2 separate regions of the Homo sapiens genome follow, and region 1 is linked to region 2. The links are contacts of gene promoters, found by promoter capture Hi-C in human tissues and cell types (Jung and others, 2019). All regions are on one chromosome and are shown on one strand. The core of a region is centred on a gene start or on the middle of the fragment in contact, and the rest is flanking DNA. Distances in the headings are between cores, read along the strand shown. Region 1 overlaps TRAIP (TRAF interacting protein). Region 2 holds the start of MST1R (macrophage stimulating 1 receptor).

The links. Contacts are between HindIII fragments. The study calls those that stand out against the background at their distance.
Region 1: a contact is called between a fragment that was not itself captured here and the fragment with the promoter of MST1R in region 2, in 4 of the 25 tissues and cell types used here (lymphoblastoid cells, neural progenitor cells, spleen and 1 more).

What each region holds. Positions count from the first base shown.
Region 1 is chr3:49,839,438-49,845,014 of GRCh38, forward strand. TRAIP (TRAF interacting protein) reads right to left here. Exons shown (of 15, transcript NM_005879.3): 4 at 5,104-5,143; 5 at 4,364-4,491; 6 at 3,016-3,110; 7 at 2,389-2,502; 8 at 1,548-1,635; 9 at 847-936; 10 at 335-423. Among named protein-coding and RNA genes, the nearest start is that of TRAIP, 14 kb to the right of the region's middle. The HindIII fragment of the contact is 9,996 bases long and covers 1-5,577 here.
Region 2 is chr3:49,901,055-49,906,646 of GRCh38, forward strand. MST1R (macrophage stimulating 1 receptor) reads right to left here and starts at 2,819. Exons shown (of 20, transcript NM_002447.4): 1 at 1,326-2,819. The coding sequence starts at 2,555. RefSeq lists enhancers at 1,170-1,843, 1,844-2,517, 3,154-3,203, 3,192-3,864, 4,839-4,998 and 1 more and a silencer at 2,744-2,963. The HindIII fragment of the contact is 20,801 bases long and covers 1-5,592 here.

The sequences.
Region 1 (5,577 bases), core at 1,308-3,807, 62 kb before region 2:
TTTTACAGTGGTTTCATATTTGTTTCAAAATCTGGGGTGGACAGATAAATGTGGGGAGCTACTCCATAAACAGGATGCCCCAAGACAGTCAGTGCTTCTGCCCTATTCTCAGACCACTTCTAGGTCCTCTGGCCTTCTCTGGCCTCTCCGTGTCAGAGCCTAATTTGCTTCAAGGCTGCTTGCCAGCTAAATCTTGGCTGGCTCCCAGGGCAGGCTGTCTGCAGACATCAGGTCCACAGAGGTCACCCACCCCACCAAAGCCAGGAGGAGTAAAGACTGTTACCAGAAAGCTCTCCCACCTTGTGACCCCTGTACCGCCCAAGGCTCAACAAACCTCTCTAAAACCAGGCGGTCGACAGTCTCACTGGCCACTGGTGGCAGGTTCAAGGTTTCCTGCAGCATCGTTAGCTTCTTTTTCAGGCTCTTGGGGAGGGAAAGAAAAGTGTGTGAGAGAAAGGCTGAGGCATCAAGTCCGGAGATAATGCAGAGGACATGAGCAGCATGCATGAAAGGCCAGCCCACTGGGAACAGAGCAAGGCCTGATACCTCATCATTAGGCTCAGGAGGCCAAGCCCCAGGTAGAGCCCCTCCTCTGATAAGGGACCTCAGGGATGTAAGTGCAGGACAGACTATGAGGGAAGACTCATGGTTCTGTCTGCCCTCTGTTGAGGAGGCCCAGGCTCCAGTCCGGACCAGGGCCAAGGGGCACACCCTGACCCAGGAGGATGCAGGGGCCCAGAACCACCACTGACTGGTGCAAGGGTCCTGGGCAGAGATAGCCCAGCCCTGCTCTGGGAGGGCACACAAACCACCCCTCATTCCTGTCAAGCCAGGGATGTCCCTCACCATGATTTCCTTGTCAGCACTCTGTAAGTCCTTCTGGGCTGACTTCAGTTCTAACTTGGCCTGATCCAATTCAGAGTAGACTGTCTGCAACTATAAGAAAGTGTAGGGAATGAAAGACAAGCCAAGTGGTAGCCTTGTGCCCTGCCCCCTCCTGCTGCTCCCCAGGGAGTGATCAAGGTAGCCCAGAAGAGACTAGAGATATGGGCAGAGATCCCAGCTCTCTGAGGCTAGGCCTCAGTCTGGCAATGCACATCCGGAGCTGCCTAGAAGCAAAGGCTGCTTCCTACATCCTGCAGCCTGTGGATGCACCATGCCAGAAGTAAAAGCAGCTGTGCTGACCGAATCAGGTTCCAGGAGCCCTTCTACTCCAGATGTGGTACAAAAATAGGCCTCTGATGCTGTCACATTTGAGGCCTGTGCTCTCCAGCCAGCTGAGAGGTACCCAGGAGCCAGGAAGAGCAGAGGGGAGCATCAGTGTCCACATGTTGGGGGATACCTCTGTGATCTGTCCACCCCTAGTGGACAAGCCACATATTCAGGCCAATGCCCAGTAAGGACTGGTAACAAATTTCTGTAAGTCCTCCAGCTGCCCCAGGGAGTCAGCTGTGCCATCAGGTCCCATGGCCTTGCTCAGGAGACCAGAGTGAACATGACAAAAGGAGAGCCACTTCTCCTTCAACCTCTGTTCACTGCTAAGTTACCTTGCTTCTGGAGGAAAACAAATCCTTCCTCAGCTTGTCAGCCACCTCCCCTGAGGCCTTCCGTGCCTCTTTTAGATTCTCGTACTCTCTGCAATGTGGCCATGGAAAGAGATGCCAGAAAAGAACACCTGCAGGTCAGACTGAGCCACAGCACTAATCTAACACAAAGCACTGCCCAACCCCTCAACTCACTCTCATTCCTACTTTGACACCTGAGCCCAACAAGTACCAGGTGGCACTGTGGAGGGTCCTGCAGAGAATGCAAGGAAGTGACTATTTCCTCCTGCCTGTCCTGCAGGCACTGGTGACTTGAGAGGGCATGCAGAAAGCCCCAGTCTCACTAGGGGGCTCCCTAAACCACCTGGTCTTAAAGGAGGCATCTTGGACCCTCTATGCCTCTCAGCTAAGTGGCCCTCCACCCTTCCTGCCAACCTTACACCCACCAGAGTGAAGAATATGAGTAGAGTTTGATCCCAGCCAGGCAGGATCATAGTGCTAATGGGGAACAGGCTCTACATATCAATCACAATGGGGCTTATAGCCCAGAGAGCTAGGTCAACTCCCTTAGAAACAGCACTTAAGATTCACACTAAATCCTCAACAATCCTATGAGGCAGGTCTACTACTATTTCCATTCAGGAAGTTGAGGGTCAAAGAGGCCAAGAAACTGGCAGCAGGCCACATAGTTGCTGAAAGGTGGAATCAGGGTTCAAACAAAGGCAGCATGGCTCCAGAGTTTGCCCCTTAGTTCCATCTGCTTTACAAGAGATGGGGAGCAATGACACGGCTGGGGCCCCATGGCCTATCTCCTGTGTTTGCTGAGAGGGGCCACAGTACGCACTTCTTGAGAGACACACAGTACACAGCCAGCTGTTCCACCGCTGACTGTCCCACACCCATGTCTCGGATCATCTCCTCCACCTCAGGGCGCTGGCTCTGGAGTAGAAGCTCAATCCTGAAAAATACACCCAGCCCACGGCATTTGCAATCTGGAGGCTGATGGGTAGGTACCCAGTGCCGCTCTGCCTTCCTTTGCTGCCGTTGCTAAGGTAACAGGCTAGGCTGCCAGGATGCTTTAGTAGGTGGGTGTGCCCAAGGAAAGGCCCTGTGGCAGAGATGAGCATAGCTCCAAGGATGCTGCTGAGAAAGAAGAGGTGCTGAAAGAGGGTCTCAAGGTCAGGGATTTCCTGGAGAGAGGTTTCTGGAAGGAAAGACCCACCAGGTCATCTGGCCACAGGCAGCAGAGACAGGGAGGAATGTGGCAAGGGCTCCCATTCCTTGGAATGGGGGAAGAGTTCATAGAGGCTAAGATCTGTGCCCACACCCAGCTGACCTGAGCCCTCCATGGCCTATGGAGATTTGAGCCTCGGACATGACCCAATCCCACTCCCTGCTGCAGTCCTAAGAACTGTACCACTTGCAGGCCCTGGGGGCAAAGGCACAGTGCAGGACCCAGCTCCAAACTCACTGCTCCATGGTCTTCATCTTGCTCCTGAGCCGGCGGGCCTCCTCTTGTGCTTGTTTGGTCTCATCCTGCTGCTGCTCTAAGTACTTCATCTGCTTCTGAAGAGCAAATACACCCATACCTGATGCTTGGAGGCCCTCAGGAGCCATTGCTAAAGTCACTAGGAAAACTCTGCTCCAGAACTCTCTGCAGCTTATGTTTTGAAAATGCTGATAACCATGTACTCCCAAACCCCAGGAGGTAAAGCTCCTGGGTCCCACTCTCGCTTGTGCTTCTTCTTCTAAAAGGCTCTAAGCCAGCTGCTTCTTCACCTCCCTGCCTGCTTCCTCCTGAAAGGTATCTTACAGTAGACACAGCCCACTGCCAGCATTTACAGGCCCACTGTGGGCTGCCAAGGTCCAGTGGTCTGGGCCTCATGGTACATGTTGTGCAGGTGGCTGAAGAAGTCCAGAGCACAAACCCAGGCCTCACCATCCAACACCCAGACCCATGGACAGTTGCCAAGAATGAATAATTGAGCCAGGGGAAGCTGGCCAGGCTGCCTTCAGCCTAAGACCACTTGTCTCTGACCTGAGAATACCATGAGAGACTCCTGCTCTGCAGCCAGGTGCCAGTTTGCTCCCTCCCACCAGCCAGACCATGTGATCCAGCCCAGCCCCCAAGCAGGAACAGAGACAATGAATATCCTGGGGCCTTGTCTGTTCACAAGGATGGCTCCCTTTCCCTTTCAAATGGCATCCAGCAAGGACTGCTCCTGCCTACAAGGCCAGAATATCAATCGTGGGTTCAGATCAATCGCCTCTCATGCCCCTTGGAGAGCAAGAGGCTCACCAACCCAGGCTGATGCAAAATTCATCTGGGTCTAAGGCTGTTCACTCTGCAGACTTTGATCTGGTTGGTCAGCTCAGCACAGCTGACTTCAAAGGCCCTTGCTCCTCCCTAGGATGCTGTTTGATCTGGCTCAGGAGAGCAGCCCAGCCAAGGACTAGAGTGCTAATGGAAGGTTCTTCAGGCTGGCCTCATCAGTAGAGTATGAACCACTTTCGGAAATATGGCCCAGCCTCACTGAGGTCTTAGTTGAGCATCCCCTCTGTGAGGTACTGGGAAGGCCTTGACTCTTCAAACTACCTAGTACAAAACCCACAAGTATAGCCAATATGGCCCTTTTCTTATGGGATGGATGGGTACAGTATGGAAGGGCAAGGGGAAGAAGTGATTTGCCTCTATTTTACAACTCCCCAAACCAAGGTGATGACTGGAGCAGAACCAGAAGATAAGCCCAGAATGGGGAGTCCAGTTCTGGGGCAATACCTCCCTATGAATTCTGTACCCATAAAACCTGAGGACCTACTTTCAGTGTGGAGCACAGCATCTCGGCCTTGCCCAAGGCCTGCTGCAGAGATACCACAGTAGCATTGCGTTCTTCCAGCGTATCCCGCAGAGTGTCGATGATGACCTGGCTGTCTCGTTTCTCCTTGTCTGGAGCAGGGGTAGAGGGCGGAGGAAAGGGAAAGGCCTGTCCATCCATCAGCAGAAGAACTTGGGCCCTTGGATTCAGTGCCTCATCCCTTAGGCAGGTGAGAAACAAGGCTCAGGCCTGAAAGCTGGGTGGCCCGCTTCTTTCTCTGGGATGTGCCAAACCAGAGAAGCTGAGCCAGAGCCTTCATTCAGGGAAAAGCCCACCTTCTGCTGCTTGAACTACTTAGGAAAATATTTTACTGCCCATTCCCTACCTGCCATGGGTCCAGTTAGTTCATCAACCCAGGACTCAAGCAGGTTCCAGCCAAACTCAGCAGCTGAGCCCTCTCCCGAAGATATTCAGTCCCATCAGGTAACCCCCTCCCATCTTGGTTCCTGGGCAAGAAGCTGCACTCAGAGACAAGAGGCTCACCTGGTCTAGGTGAACAGCTTCAGTCACCTCCCTTCCCTCTCTTTTTCTGCCCACCACAACAGCTAGCAGGACTCTTGGACATACAAAGCAGGGAAAGGCCCTGGCTCTCCCAAACGGTTTGAAACCTTCCTCCTAGGGCCCCCTTCCTCCAGCATCCAAGTCAGGGGCTTCCCAGCACCCCTCGTCTCTTGCTAACTCACCTTTCTGGGAAAGCTGGGCTCTGACATTGTCCAGTTCATTCTGAAAGGCAATACCCACAATAAGCAGCAGGAAAGCATCATAGCTGACCTCCACGTGGTCTCCCATAAGGCTGTGGGGAGCCCCAGGATTGAACAATGAGGCCTTCTAGGGCATGAATCCTGCAGTGCCTCAAGGCCAAGCTAAGCTAACAATGGAAAGATAAGCACTGCTGTAGCTCTATGTGCCCTTTTGAAAAGTAGGTAAGATGGAGGAAAACAATCTCAGGGGCAAGGCCCCAGGACAGGTAAAGAGGTAGAATAGTGGAAGGGAAGTTAAAGTAGGGCCCCTGTGATCAGTCTCCATAGCAGAAGTTTCTATCACTTCCTTGGCCTCATCGCTCTATGTTGGTCTCATTCCCTCTGGGCATCAGCTGACTCACCAGGGACACACAATAGGAATGGCCAAGGACCTTGGGCGACTACTCCTCCTCTCCA
Region 2 (5,592 bases), core at 1,569-4,068:
GGTGTCTTCTGACCCACTGACCACTAGGCAAGCTGGGGAGAGGTTCTGACTCCCCATTGGGAAGGAGAAGGGGCCAGGCAGGCCTGCCCAGGCCCAGACAAGGAGTCCCCAACCCTAGGGCCTCTCAACCCAGATGTACTCAGCAGAGGGAGGGAGGCTAAAGACCCCCAACCTCACATTGGGTGTAAGTTCTCCCATCTCCGAGGCATCAATAGGAGCGGAAAGGAGTCTTTCGAGAATGTCACAGCAGGCCCAGGGCCACAGGATGATAGCTAGAGAATCTAAGAACAGTAGCTGTGGGTCCCATTCCTTGGTCCAATCTTACTGCTGTTGCCTACACGATGGCTGGAGAGAACCTAGATAGAGTCTGTGGAAGGAGCCCCCAGTTCAGCACAGGCTTTGAGACTTCCTGCCTGGGGTAGGGCTCCAAATACAGTTAAAAAAAAAAGTCTGGGATGGACCAATTCCAACCAGCCCTTCCTAGGCCTTTACTTATCCCCAGATGTTTATAGTTGCTTGCACAAGACTAGAGTGAGGCTCCCAGAACCTTCTAGAACCAAGCTGCCATTCCATGAGTTCTGGGTACTCCCCCAATCACCCCCAATCATGGCAAAAACGTTAGTGAAGCCCAGGACATGCAGGCTCCCTAACAAGCTCCCAACTTCCAAGGCCCAGGAGGCTCCCTGGAACGTGGTGGCTGGCAGAAGGATGGGGGTGGGTGGGGGGAGGGGGTGTGGAGGAAGGGGAGATTCTCTGACAACTCCCGTCCCACCCCCTTTGGAAAGCAGAGCAAAACAAGGGAAAGTGAAACTGTTGGCAAGCAGCTGTGAGTCTGTGAATCTGTGAGCATCTCCCTGTGTATTTGTGCGTGGTGGTGGTGGTGGTGGCGGGGGTGGGGGAGGGGAGGGGGGAGTGCTATTTTTCTGCGTGTGTCCCTGAGGATATGGGTGGTGGACAAGTAGGAGGGAATGCCCATCATTCTACCCAGCATTCAGGAGCTATGCTAACAGAGACACGGTTATGTAACCCTATCCTCACATAGCCAGGGAAACTACCTAAAAAACCAGAGGCCATGATGGGCAGGTAGGGGAAAGAGCAAGATGAGGCAGCCACAAGGGCCAGCCTGGGAGCTAAGCCTCCAGTGTAGCCTTTGTCTGGCTGGTTTCTCACACCACCCCAGCACTTAGGAACTGGGTGAGAGAGAATGCTTCTTTCCGCCTGCCCCCCCACCGCGCCCCCAGATCCCCTCAGTGATGGAAGGGAAGCAGCCTGTGTTCAGCCATGTGCATGCAGCTCACAAGTAAGGGCCCCTTCTTTCAGCTTACCGGGTTGGGGCAAAAACTGGGCGACTGGAAGAAGTCGAGGCCTCGCCGGAGGCCTGGATGGACTGGGGATTCACAACAGCGCTCCACACCCTCATCAATTAGTGTGTCCAGCAGGTCAATGGGGAAGGCACAGACGACAGAGTTGGGGCCCACGCCAGGACCACCATCCTTGCCAGTCACAAAGACCCCAAATAGTACTTCCTGGCCCTCGGCGATGCTCAGCTCAGTGGCAAGTTGGGCACCCACTGGAGCGGAGTGGGCCACCCGCAGCACAGGGTAGGGCTGTCCGCCTTCTGGGGCCCCCCGGCGCCTGCGTTTTGGAGCAAATCTGCAGTCGAGGACCAGCTCCCGATAGTCACCCAACTCTGGCTCAGTGGCGCTAAGCCGTGCCAGGCGTGTGTGCAGGGCACTAGGATCATCTGTCACGCTGGCCGGCTGTACAGTCAGGAAGTATACGAAGGCTCCCGTGTGGAAGCTGTGCACGTATTCAATACTGTAGGAGACAAGATGCTTGGGCAGCACTGACAACGCCACAAAGCCCGGTGCGAATCCCGAGGCGTCAGCCTTGAGACGCCTGATAGACACTGAGCGTGGGCTGAAGCTGGCAGCCACGGCTGCGTCCAGTGAGGATGCCACGTAGAAATAGGAGGCCTGGCCTTGCTCAACCACAGTTACACGGGTGCCCAATGGGCTGGCCACACAGTCGGGGCAGTCATCGGGCCGGTTATGGTGGGCTGAGAAGAGGCAGGCTGGCGCTGCCAGATGCACGGCTGTCCCTTGGGGCTCTAGGTCATGCAGGAAGCAGCGGCCCTGCAGGCTGGAGCCACAACTGACCAGCGCAGGCAGCGCGGGATCCAGCACCAGCACCTTTGTGTCTGTGTCACCGGGAGGGCCGTGGGGTCCTGGGCCACAGGCTGCACACGTCTGGCAGCCAGGGTCTCCAGCAGGGCCCGTGGCCAGGCTCTGGACAGACTTCAGGTCAGGCCCAAGCACATGCAGGCGATTGCGTATGGCTACAAACACAGCACTCTCATTTCTGTCGCCCTCGTAGGTCACCATGGCCTGTACCAGGCCTCCGGCGGAGAAGCTGGGCACCACGTACTTCACGTCAAAGTCGCGAGAGGCCGCGTAGGGGGTGCGCGGGCACTGCCAGTCCTCGCCCGCCGCGGGCTTGGCAGGCAACAGCAGCAGCAACAGGAAGGACTGAGGCAGCGGCGGGAGGAGCTCCATCGAGGCGAGCTGGGACCCTAGAGGATCCCTACCGGCCTGGGCCTGGACCTGGGCGTGGGCCTGGCTGGGGGCCCGACTCGAGGTCTGGACTGGGCCAAATTTAAGCAGCGGTCCCGACAGCCCCAAGATAGCGGACCCCCGCCCCAGGTTCCTGTGAAACCCAAATCCCTTCCCGGCCCTCGGGTCTGAGCACCTGACGCCTGCGGACGCACGACAGCAACGCCCCAGCCGCCTCACCTGCCGCCCCAGCCGCCGCTGTACACTGGCGCTTAGCGCTCAGCCGACCCGAGGGCGCCGGGCTGGGCGGGCGGAGTCGGGCCGTGGGGGCGGGGCCGCGAGGAAGGCTTGGCCTAGCCCAGGCCCTCCGCCCATCCGACTCTTCCGGCCCTTGGAGGCCTGGCTCCTGTACCTTCACCTGGCGTCTTGGCGCCTTTTTCTCAGCGGCCTGTGGGTGGATGTGCATGGTGTGGCCTGGAGAGAGGTGAGCCAGTCTGAGCCGTCCCATCCCATCCCCCCACTACCGACTGGTTCGCAGCGAGAAGGGGGGCAGGACACTGGGCTCTTTGCTTGCGGTGGAACTAGTTTGCACTTAGTAGCAACACCCTCAGTGGCTGGTGCCCAGAGGTGGCCTGGGGGCCCACCATGTGGAGAACAGAGACCAGGATTGTGTGGAAGACCAGAGGGGAGATGTGGGGCACTTACAAGAGATGTTATGGGGCGCCACCCTTTGTGGGAAAGGACTGTCCTTTTTTTTTTTTGAGAAGGAGTCTTGCTCTGTGGCCCAAGCTGGATTGCAGTGGCGCGATCTCGGCTCACTGCAAACTCCGCCTCCCAGGTTCAAGCGATTCTCCAGCCTCAACCTCCTCCTGTCTCAACCTCCTGAATAGCTGGGATTACAGGCGCGCACCACCACACCCGGCTAATTTTGTATTTTTAGTAGAGACAGGATTCACAGTGTTGGCCAGGCTGGTCTCAAACTCCTGACCTCAGGTGATCCGCCCGCCTCAGCCTCCCAAACTGTTGGGATTACAGGCGTAAGCCACCGCGCCCGGCCGGGACCATTCTTCCATGTGCTTCTCCTGAGCTATCAGCGACAAGATGGTGTCAGAGGAAGGTGTGTTATGCCCTGCTCTCCCAGGGCCATAAGGGTCTTAGGATGGGATCTGGCCTTGCTGACTGGACCTCAGAGTCAGAGAGGCACGTAAGTGGAGGCCCATACCTCCTCTGCAGCCTCAGTATATGGAAGCTGTATAATGGGGTCCACAGTATGGGCCTTGGGGACTCCCCCTTCCTTCCTGGCTCTACCCAGTGCCCCCCTGATATGGAGGAATCATGGGCTTTGGCTCTCAGGACACTTCCAACATGCTCTGTAGGCCTTGCTGGATCTTATTCTCTTCAATGAGAATGTAGTTCTGGGCTGGGCACCGTGGCTCATGCCTGTAATCCTAGCACTCCTTTGAGGGGCCAAGGCAGGAGGATTGCTTGAGGTTAGGAGTTCAAGACCAGCCTGGGCAACATAACAAAACTCAACAAAACAAAAAAACTGCTAAAAATGTTTTTAAAATAAAATATGTGACCGGGCGTGGTGGCTCACGCCTGTAATCCCAGCACTTTGGGAGGCCGAGGCGGGTGGATCGCTTGAGGTCAGGAGTTCAAGACCAACATGGTGAACAGACAGATCTGGCCAACATGGTGAAACTATCTCCACTAAAAACAAAAATTAGCCGGGCGTGGTGGTGGGTGCCTGTAATCCCAGCTACTAGGGAGGCTGAGGCAGGAGAATAGCTTGAATTTAGGGGGTGGAGGTTGCAGTGAGCTGAGATTGTGCCACTGCACTCCAGCCTGGGTGACAGAGCGAGACTCCATCTCCAAAAAAAGAAAAAGAAAACGTAGTTCCGACTAGGTGATTTCCCAGAGTTCTCTCTTCTGTTTATGAGGAGTGGGGGTGGGGGAGCCTAGTCCCACACTTGGATCTCAGCAGCTGCCCCTTGGTAACTGGTCCCCCAACACTAGACTGAGGCCCCTGGGGGACAACCTTAGCCTGACAGACCCCTCAGTTAGATAGGCCTGGACCCTAGAAGACAGGGAAGGTCCACAGGGTGGGTCTGGGCTGTGAACTATGGGCCCCAAGGCTGTAGATAAGGAGGCTGGGGGAGAGAGGAGCCCTCAGCCCAACAGGATTTAGCCTGGCTTGGGGAGCTATATCTCCTCACTCCCCTTTCAGTTCATACTTCTGTGCCTGCATCCCCTTCCTAACCTGACCTTTGTAAGTGCTGTTCCTCCTTCCAGGAGCACTCTTTCCCTTTTCTCCTTTTGCCACCTAAATGGCACCTCCTCCAGGAAGCCTTTTTGATCCAGACTTTGCCAGTCCCCTCTCCTGGGTCTCACAGACCCAGTGCTACACTCACCCCAGCACAGTTTACTCTGGATACTTCACTTCCTCCATCCCCAGTGCAGGACTCCCCCTCCTTCCAGCCTGGAGCTCCATGAGCACCTGAAGACTGAAAGAGGAAATGGAAGTGGGGGCGGCCACACCCAGTGCAGGGTTGATACTGTGCCCTGAGGTGACATAAAAGACACTCCTTTTCCAAAGCAGAATTGGCCAGGAAATGAATAAACACCCGGAGAAAACCGTGGCGTGGTTCCTGCATTCCACAGTCAACACATCTAAAGATAGGCAAGGCAAAACTAAAATGAAACATTCTCAGCCTGGCGCACAGACAGGGGTTCTGGTGACCCAAATCCCACCTCCAGACTTTCAGAGGGATCTCTGGTGGTTGGGAGAAGACTTCACAAGCCCTCTTAGATCACCCCACCCACCCCTTTTTGGGGGTGGTGTTGCGGCAACCATCCGTTAGTTCTCCGCTGCCACCGTGTGGCCGCGCTAATGGCTGTCCCCAGGCTGAGGTCCCCTGTAAGGCAGCCTTGGTTCTCAACAGCAGGGGTACACAGGAGCACCCCTTCCCCCTCTCGCCATCTGCCGCCTCTATAGGAGGGGGCAGTCAAGGTGTGTGGGGGAGGTCAGCTAATGGGACTC